Linked DNA regions of Homo sapiens: region 1 is linked to region 2. Evidence: promoter capture Hi-C in human tissues and cell types (Jung and others, 2019). All regions are on one chromosome and are shown on one strand. The core of a region is centred on a gene start or on the middle of the fragment in contact, and the rest is flanking DNA. Distances in the headings are between cores, read along the strand shown.

What was found. Contacts are between HindIII fragments. The study calls those that stand out against the background at their distance.
Region 1: a fragment that was not itself captured here is called in contact with the fragment with the promoter of SMAD7 in region 2 in 1 of the 25 tissues and cell types used here (lymphoblastoid cells).

What each region holds. Positions count from the first base shown.
Region 1 is chr18:49,821,345-49,825,817 of GRCh38, forward strand. MYO5B (myosin VB) reads right to left here. Exons shown (of 40, transcript NM_001080467.3): 40 at 1,445-4,473. The region is part of intron 1 of SNHG22 (small nucleolar RNA host gene 22); the gene reads left to right. Among named protein-coding and RNA genes, the nearest start is that of SNHG22, 9.6 kb to the left of the region's middle. The HindIII fragment of the contact is 3,104 bases long and covers 1,125-4,228 here.
Region 2 is chr18:48,949,519-48,954,037 of GRCh38, forward strand. It overlaps SMAD7 (SMAD family member 7), which reads right to left and starts at 1,447. Exons shown (of 4, transcript NM_005904.4): 1 at 294-1,447. The coding sequence starts at 906. RefSeq lists silencers at 385-704, 1,921-2,620, 3,191-3,530. The HindIII fragment of the contact is 10,376 bases long and covers 225-4,519 here.

The DNA of each region.
Region 1 (4,473 bases), core at 1,427-3,926, 870 kb after region 2:
CCCTCCAGCCTGAGCAACAGAGCAAGACTCCATCTCAAAAAAAAAAAAATTTGGTGATGTTTGTATGACCATAAATATGCCGAAGGAACTGTTTATATCAACTAGCTTATGTTAAAATTGGTGTCATTACGTCATTTTGTTTATACTCGTGGTTTCCTAGAACTTATCAGTGACGTTGAGGACTAATTATACTGTGACCATTTTTCTGGATCATGAAATATTTCAATAGTGGTCTCTAATGATGGGTGCTTAAGGGCACCATCCCTGGGGATGTCTTCTTGTATATTTTTAGGTGGGTCAGGTTAACAATGGGTGTGGAAGGGCACCATCTCTGGAGGTGTCTTATTCCATAAATTTGGGTGTAAATTTTTTTAAAGATTTCCAGGTGATTTTGATGTGTACTCCCAGTTAAGAAAAAATGTATCAGTATTTCCATATAGATGCTCAGTTTCTGGGCTATTCTGTTCCACTGGTCAATTTTTCCACATCCAGGGCCGGGCGCGGTGGCTCACGCCTATAATCCCAGCACTTTGGGAGGCCGAGGCGGGTGGATTACCTGAGGTCGGGAGTTTGAGACCAGCCTGACAGACATGGAGAAACCTTGTCTCTACTAAAAATACAAAATTAGCTGGGCATGGTGGCACATACCTATAATCCCAGCTACTAGGGAGGCTGAGGCAGGAGAATTGCTTGAACCTGGGAGGCGGAGGTTGCGGTGAGCTGAGATTGTGCCATTGCACTCCAGCCTGGGCAACAAAAGCGAAACTCTGTTTCAAAAAAAAAAAAAAAATTTCCATGTCTGTCATCCTCACACATCTTAATTACTGAAATTTTGTAAGTCTCAATGCCTGCTAAGGAAAGCTTCCCACTTTCTCAAGGAGGGTCTTCCTTATTCATGGGCCTTTGCTCTTCCATATAAATCTTATAATGAGCTTGTCAGTTTTCACATAGAAACAGTTGAAATTTTGATTTTTAATCTATAGATCAACTTGGGGACAACTGACAAACTTTTAGTGGTATGGAGTCTTCGAATTCTTGTACCTAATTATTTCTCCATTTTAATGTTGTCATTGTTTTTCACTTATATTTTACAAATTCCTCCATACAGATCTTATGACTATTTCCCCACTGATTTTTCATGCCATCTCTACCGTATGCTATGTTATACATAGGATTGGGCCTATCCTTGCACTCCCTATTCTGTTTCGTTGATCTACTTGTCTTTGCCTACACCAAAACTGCCTTTAATTCCATAGCTTTAAAGTAATTGCTCAATAAGCCTTGTTATCTGAGAGTTTCTCCCTGCCCCCAACTTTTGGACTGTAAGATGCTGACCTCTGGTTTAAATGATCTTGACACGTATTAGAATATAGGCCCCATAATGAAGCTTCTCAAGAGAGCATTACAAAGAAACTTTGTCAACCTGTAGCTGCAGAGTTTTAAATTTCATTTAGATTTGGCACACCTCTTTATTCAAAAGTATTTATTTCCACAAATTTTTATCCACAGCTAAATATTACAGTGACTATTACAAGCATTTTTCTATAAACAAAGGTGTAGTTTACAGATTTGTGCAAAGTGGGAAAATATTTTCATCAGTAGTCTTTCTTCCATGGTGTTGGATTCACCCCTGAATATGATCTGAACTCTTTCAGAGAGGCAGTCCTTCATCTAAATGTCAGTTGGTGGCAAAATGTTATATTCAAATCTGGATTATTCTGATACAGTGTCACTTTAGAAAGTAGCTTAGTTTCATTTCTGATTGATCCCCTTTGTTAGAATTAGAAATTTTTTGAAAAACAATCTTTTGTATCTAATGACCTTTATAATAAAAAAAACCCTGTCCTGTGTTTCTCATTGGCATTAACCTCTGTCTACACCCTCTAATTCTCTAATTATGGCACCAGTGGGTATAAAAAGTGAATTATGGTTATTTGGCTCATGCAGCAAATTAATTGGAGAAACTGACCACAAATATTCTGTGAAGAACTACAAGGTCTTGCCCCATGCTGTCCCATTTTAGTGACCATTTAGTTATGCAGGCATTATACAAATGCCTCAATTTAGGACACCCTTGCTGTCTTAGTAGGTCAAGTGTATGAAAATTTACTTTATGCAGAAGAAATGAATTCTAATTTATTGGTTACTGGAATCTTAATGTATGAAAGCTCTAAGTAAATATTTGATGAATTGATGGTAGCAGTGTTGATTTTTAACTGTTCCAAGCTCCTAGTTTTGTTTTGTTTTTACAAAAGCCTTAAAATTTAGTACTAGGGAAATCAAAGGAAGCAACTCCCACTGACATGCTTCATGGAAAGGGGAAAAACATCTACCTTTGGGTCTAATCTGCCTCCCAGGTGAGCCTACAGGTACTGGAACTCTAACTGCAACTATGAGGGCACAGGGAAAATGCATGTATGTAATATGCTTGTCAGCTTCAGCAACAACTCATGTGTACATTCACATTTACTATAAGTAAACAGGTCCCGTATAATACTTAAAACACAAGTTTTGATCTATAAATATTTGATTCTTAATATTTAAAATGCTTCTAATGTTTTAAAAGACAAAACTCCCCCATGATATCACCTTGAACATTAAAATTATTCCCACAGCAACACTTATTTCAGAGAAACAACTGATGTCAGTTATCTTAGTAACCGCTAAAGGCACCTGGTGAAAAAAATGTCAACTAAATTTTAAATATTAAAAAATTAAAGAGACATCTAATGCAGAGTTCAAACCTGAATTGTTAAAGAGTCATTACTGATTTCATGACACTGATAAATGTTTGAATTGAAATGATTTTTTAAAATGCAGAGAAAATGCTAACAAAAGATTATATAGTTCCCCTAAAGATGCTTCTTCTAGCCTCCAAGTATTAAATAAGACAGATCTAAATATTAACTACATATAAAGTATATATTTGTTAGTCATCTGTAAGTTTTAAGTACAATTCCAGGATATACCTTTATCTTTTGGAAGAGAAGAACTAAATCTGCCATTTCTTAGGCTAAATGGACTATTCATAAGGTCCTTCCCTCCCCATTTATTCTAATTGCCAAGCTTTTATTCAGTAAGCTCTTGGCACCTAGTGATTAACCAGTGACAGCAGAGAGTAGTGACCAAGAGAGATGGAGAGAATGATGGTATAAGACAGTGTATAAGGATAGTAAGCCACTGTGTTTGTGGAACCACTGCATGTCAAAACTCCTTAACACTCTAACAAGGCATTTTTGGTCTTTTAAGGATGGTCCTTACATAAGAGACTCACTTTCAAACTAAAGTGCATTAAAAAACAAATTATCCTTCACAAACAACTTTAAAGAGGTAGCCACAAACCCAGTTGTTTTAGATTGGCCTTCTAAATGAAGTCAGCACATGGATCCATGGGTAAGTGTCATGGACGTCAGTGATTATGTAACTGTAACTGAAAGAAAAAGGCACAGCTCTGCCGATGCCCAAGAGAAGCCGGCATGTTTAATGTGGATGTAGAGGGGATAATGCCCATGACAACTGATTGGAACACAATGTCAGCAGCCTTAACCCAGGCTAAGACTGGCCTAAGCCCCAGGAGATGCAGAGAACAACTGAGGAAGCTGTGCTCTAAGGGCACAGTGCAGAAGGTAGCGTGGAGTGTGCTGTGTTTCCAAGAGCCTTTTAAGTTGGGTGGTTGAGTAAAAGAGGGTGAAGGCAGGCTGTTCTACTTCCAATTCATGGATAAATCTTATTTTCTCAATGTAATACAGAGGCTGTTCTTCCATGATTTGCAAATACCATTTTTTTCTTATGGGAACAGCATACTGCTATCAAGAAATACAGAAAAGACAGTAAAAAAAAGTGTGGAAAGAATATGGGTTTCCAATTGAATGCTTGCTTTTGAAGAAACCAAAAACAAGTTAAAAAAAATTCTAAGAGCAGCAAACATCTAAGCCTGTTATATTACTGAATTACTTTTTTAAAATCCTTATTTTGTGGGAGAGATATTTACAATTTTTTGTGTGCTAAATTTGAAAAACGTTGAAAATAACCTGAAAAGGGAAAGTTGACCTAAGCCATTTTATTCTCTTAAAAAAAAAAAACCCAAACTTTTGTATAATATCCCTGAACTGATTATTTTTGAAGGTTTTTCAGATGATCTGATGTGCGAACTTTAGTTTGTTTTACTATTTGGTTTCTGGAACAGTAGAGCATTATGTGATGCTCTTACTGGAAGCTTAATGGTATTAAGAGATTAAAAGCTTTCATATTGACTTGTTTGGTTTTTACATCTATAAATAAAACAAGTTTGTTATCCGTTTCTAATATTTAGCTTATATACATTTTTGTGAAAGTTTTGTGGGACTTGGAAAGTGTATGGACTAGCATCAGAAACAAAATATTTTTCCATCTTTCTCACTTGGAGTTTGGGATAGCAGCATTTTAATAATCTCTTCCATTAAATCAAGATAACACAAAAGCGTTTGAGCACAC
Region 2 (4,519 bases), core at 197-2,696:
CCGCAGACTGCAGGAGCAGTGCCCGTAGACCCCTTCGGGGCAACACAGGAGAAAACCTGGAAGGGAACCCCCAGGGAATGCCCTTTGAGTTTCCCCTTGTCCCTTCTCTACTTTCAGCCCCCAGTCTCTTCCCAGGAGGGTATGCACACTCTCCCAGGAGGGTATGCACACTCTCCCAGGAGGGTATGCACACTCCCCCTGGAGGGATGGCTGCACAAACGCACTGCCCTAGGGGCTTTTCTTCCAGCACTGGCGCTCCGGAAAATGTTGGGGGTAGGGGGACAACTTCTCACCTAGTTCGCAGAGTCGGCTAAGGTGATGGGGGTTGCAGCACACCAGCTCGGGGTTGATCTTCCCGTAAGATTCACAGCAACACAGCCTCTTGACTTCCGAGGAATGCCTGAGATCCGGCCACCTGAACACTTTGCACAGCAGGAGGGGGAGCGAGTAGGACGAGGGCGGCTGCGCAGGCTGCGCGCCGGCGGGCGCCCCCGGGCCCAGCCTGCAGTCCAGGCGGCCGGGCAGCAGGAGGCACGCGGTGCGCGTCCCGCCGCGGGACTCCACGGCCTGGAGCAGCAGCTCCAGCTGCCGCTCCTTCAGTTTCTTGAGCACCGAGTGCGTGAGCGCCTTCAGATCCGCCTCGGCGCCCCCGGCCGCGCCGGCGCCCGCGGCTGGCGGGTGGGGATGGTGGTGACCTTTGGCACCTCGCACCGCCTTGCCCAGGCAGCATCCAGCCCTGCCCGGGCCGCCGCCACCGGCCCCATGCGCTCGGCTGTCCGTCGCCCCTTCTCCCCGCAGCTCGCCTCCTCCTCCACCTCCCCCTGCGCCCTCCTCCTCGTCCTCGCCGCCGGGCGCACGGCTCCTCCAGAGACGCCGGACGAGCGCAGATCGTTTGGTCCTGAACATGCGGGGCGAGGAGGCGAGGAGAAAAGTCGTTTGCCTGCTAAGGAGCGAACATGACCTCCGCACACCATGAAGAAGTCGGGCGCCGAGTTGGGGCAGCAGGCGCAGGCGACAGCAGCAGCAGCAGGGGCCCGGGCAGGAGCGGCGGCGGCCCGAGGGGCGCTCCGTGGCATGCGCCAGTCTCCCGGAGGCCGGGGCGCGCGCGGGGGCCCGGGGGCGCCCGCCGGGGATCGGGGGCCTGCGCTCCGGCTGCCCCACCCCGCGCGGCCCGCGCCCTGCGCGGCTCTCCGGCCCCGGCGCGCCCCGGAGGAACCCGGCCGCCGCTTCCCTGGGGACGGCCGAGCCTGCCCCCGTCGGCGCCTCCCCAAAAAGAGGCCCCCCCGCAGTGGCTCCCGAATGTCGGGCTCGCCAGCCTCGGCTTCCTACATGGAAGGTCCGCGGGGGCAAAAAACGAAAGGCGTTCGGCTGGGCTGTTGGAAGAAGGAAAAAGCCTCTTTCCCCCTTGCTAAGCAACTTAATTTGGGGGTGGGGAGAAGCAGGCAATTAAAAAAAAAAAAGCAAGCGATTTATTTTTTTCCTCTATATCCTTAGTAACCGGATCTCCTCGAATTCCGCGCACACGAAGACTCAGGGGAGGGGGCCGAGTGGACTTCACCCCGCATGAGACGTCTGGCAAAATAAGAAGGCTCTCGCAAAACCTAACAACCAAATATGCAAAGCCCCAAATGAAAACCACCACCTCCTCGAACCTCAGAGGTCTGGGGGCGTCCGGCTGGAACTGGGGTTTAAAAAAAGAAAATGTTTACAAAGTATAACAAGATGTTTGATGGGTGGAAAAATGTATCCACGAGTTACATCCCCCCGTTTCCTTGCAAAGCCCCGCTGGTCTTCCTCTCCTTTTCTTCTGCCAAAAAAAAAAAAAAAAATCGTGTATTTTTTTAATCCACAGAAAGCTTTGGCTAGACCGCTTCAATCCTGCGCATCTGGGTGGTTTAGGGGAGTCTCTGGTCTTTCCCCCTGCGCTCCTGGGGGCCCAGGTCCTCGGCGGGGACTTCCTCGAGGCTGGCGCGGGCGCAGGGGCAGAAGATGCTGCGGCGGCGGCTGAGCCCGGCGGGGCTGACAGCGCGGGGGAGGGTGGCGCGGCGGCGGCGGAGGGCCCCAGACGGGTCGCGCGTTCTCGCCCCCCCCGGGCACAAGCTGCTTGCTAGTGCAGGGGCCGCCGATGTCCCTTCCCCTGGCCGCGGCTGGCCGCCGAGGCTCCCCGCATGGGCTGCTCGCCTCGACCCAGCTGCGGCGGCAGGAGGCCCCGGTGTCCTCTCGGCGCCTCCTCCTCCGAGACTCTCCTCGTCGCGCCCGGGAGCCTCCTTGTCCCCGGTCCGCCCTCTCCTGGCGCTCCGGTCCTTCTGCCGCCGCCAGGGGCTCGCCGCGCCGCACTCAGGGGCTCAGGGGCCGGGCGCTCGGCGGCTCGGCGCCGACGGACTGGCTCTGTCTCGGGCAGCTCTCTCCCGCGCGGCGAGCGGACCGAGCACGGCGCCCGGCTGGCTCGGCTGGCGCGGCTCGGGGACAGGATCTTCCGTGCGCCGAGCAGCAAGCGAGTGTGCCCGGGGCTCACCGCCTCCCGCAAGGCCTCCCGCCCCCGCCCCCTTCCCTCCCCCTTCCTCCCCCTTCCCTCCCCCGCCCCCAGCCGCCGCAGCCGCGCCGCCTCCTCCCCGCCCCCCCGCACCCCCCCTCCGGCCCTCTGCTCGGCTGGTTCCACTGCGCAGTGGCGCGCCCGGCTCCGGCCTCGTCACGTGGCCGTCTAGACACCCTGTCGCTTTAAAAAAAAAAAAAAAGCGATTGTGTTTCGCAAACAACAGATCGGGTTTCTAAAAGCTATTTCTCCCCCCAACCCCCCGCCACCGCCACCCCCTCCCGGGTCTGTAGAGGGGGTACCGATGGAGGGGAGAGAGATAGGTGGGGGGCAGAGAAGCTCCCAGAATGGATTGAGCCCCGGCCGGAGCCATGGAGAAATTGGAAAAGCAGGGAGCACCGAGCGGGCTTCGCCGCGAGTTTTGGAGCTGAGCGAGCGGGTCGGTGGCCCGATTTCGACCCGGCTGGGTTTCGCGGTGGCCATCTCGCGCGCGCTCGCCCTAGCGCTTCATTCATTGGTTTTGTTTTAAAGGCCCTGGCGGTGGATCCCTTGGCCGCGCCCGAGGGCAAGGGGAGGAGAGCGCTGTCTCGGTTTAAAAGACATTTATACCGGACTGGACCGAGGCCCTGGGAAGTGTGCGCTGAGGGGAACAGCCGCCGAGGGCGGGGAGGCGGCGTGAATATGACCTCAGCGGCGGCCGCGCGCTCCCTCCCGCCCTCTCAGCTCCGGGCTCCGGTTTCTAGGACTGCCTGGAGAAGTGTGTCTTGTGCACAGCTCTGGAATGCATTTGGCCGGCTGACGAGCTGTGAGGGGCAGCATCCCGGCGGGAGAAGGGGAGCGGGGGTGGGGGCTCGCCTGCGCGCCGCGGGCAGGTTTCCTCCCGGGCCCGGAAGACCTCCGCCACCCGCCACCCTGCCTCCCGGCGCGGGAAGGTTACCCAGCGAGCAGACCTGCCTAGGGCATTCATTTGCATGCAGGCCCTGTTTCTGGGCCTCGTAGCTTTCAAGGTGCTTAGAGTCAGAGAGTTTATTCCTTGACCCCAGGTCCCGAAGAAACATATACCCAAGCTGGCGGGTTACTGCATAGAAACGGGCATGGCATTGCTAGGGCATAAACGCATTTACAGCGTGAAAGCTGATGGCTCCGAGAAACGTAATGATTTAAATACACACACATCAGTATTGATGAGGCCACTAGTTGGCATGGTGATCTAACCTCACTTCATATTCAGTGAAATACGATTTTTTTAAAAAGCCATTGAGAATTGTGAGATCAGGCCAGCAGTGAAACTCGTTGGGGGCTTTAAAGAATCTTTTTTTCTTTCTTTCTTTCTTTTTTTTTTTTTTTTTAGAGTCTCACTCTTCACCCGGGCTAGAGTCCAGTGGCTCGATTTCGGCTCACTGCAGCCTCTGCCTCCCCAGATCAAACGATTCTCCCACCTCAGCCTCCGGAGTAGCTGGGACTACAGGCGCGCGCCACCACATCTGGCTAATTTTTGTATTTTTTGGTAGTGACGCGGTTTAACCATGTTGGCCAGGCTGATGTGGAACTCCTGACCTCAAGTGATCTACCTGCCTCAGCCTCTCAAAGTACTGGGAGTACAGGCGTGAGCCACTGCACCTGGCCTTAAAATAATCTTTAGAAAAGGTGAAATGTGCCCAGGTGCGATGGCTCACGCTTGTAATCCCAGCACTTTGGGAGGCTGAGGCAGGTGGATCACCTGAGGTCAAGAGTTTGAGACCAGCCTGGCCAACATGGTGAAACCCGTCTCTACTAAAAATACAAAAATTAGCCAGGCGGGTGGCGCGCGCCAGTAATCCCAGCTGAGACAGGAGAATTGCTTGAACCCGGGAGACGGAGGTTGCAGTGAGCTGAGATCGCGCCACTGCACTCCATCCTGGGCAACAGAGTGAGACTCTGTCTCAAAAAAAGAAAAGAAAAAAAGAAAAGTAAAGATGAAATGTACATCTTGCCGGCTAAATTATA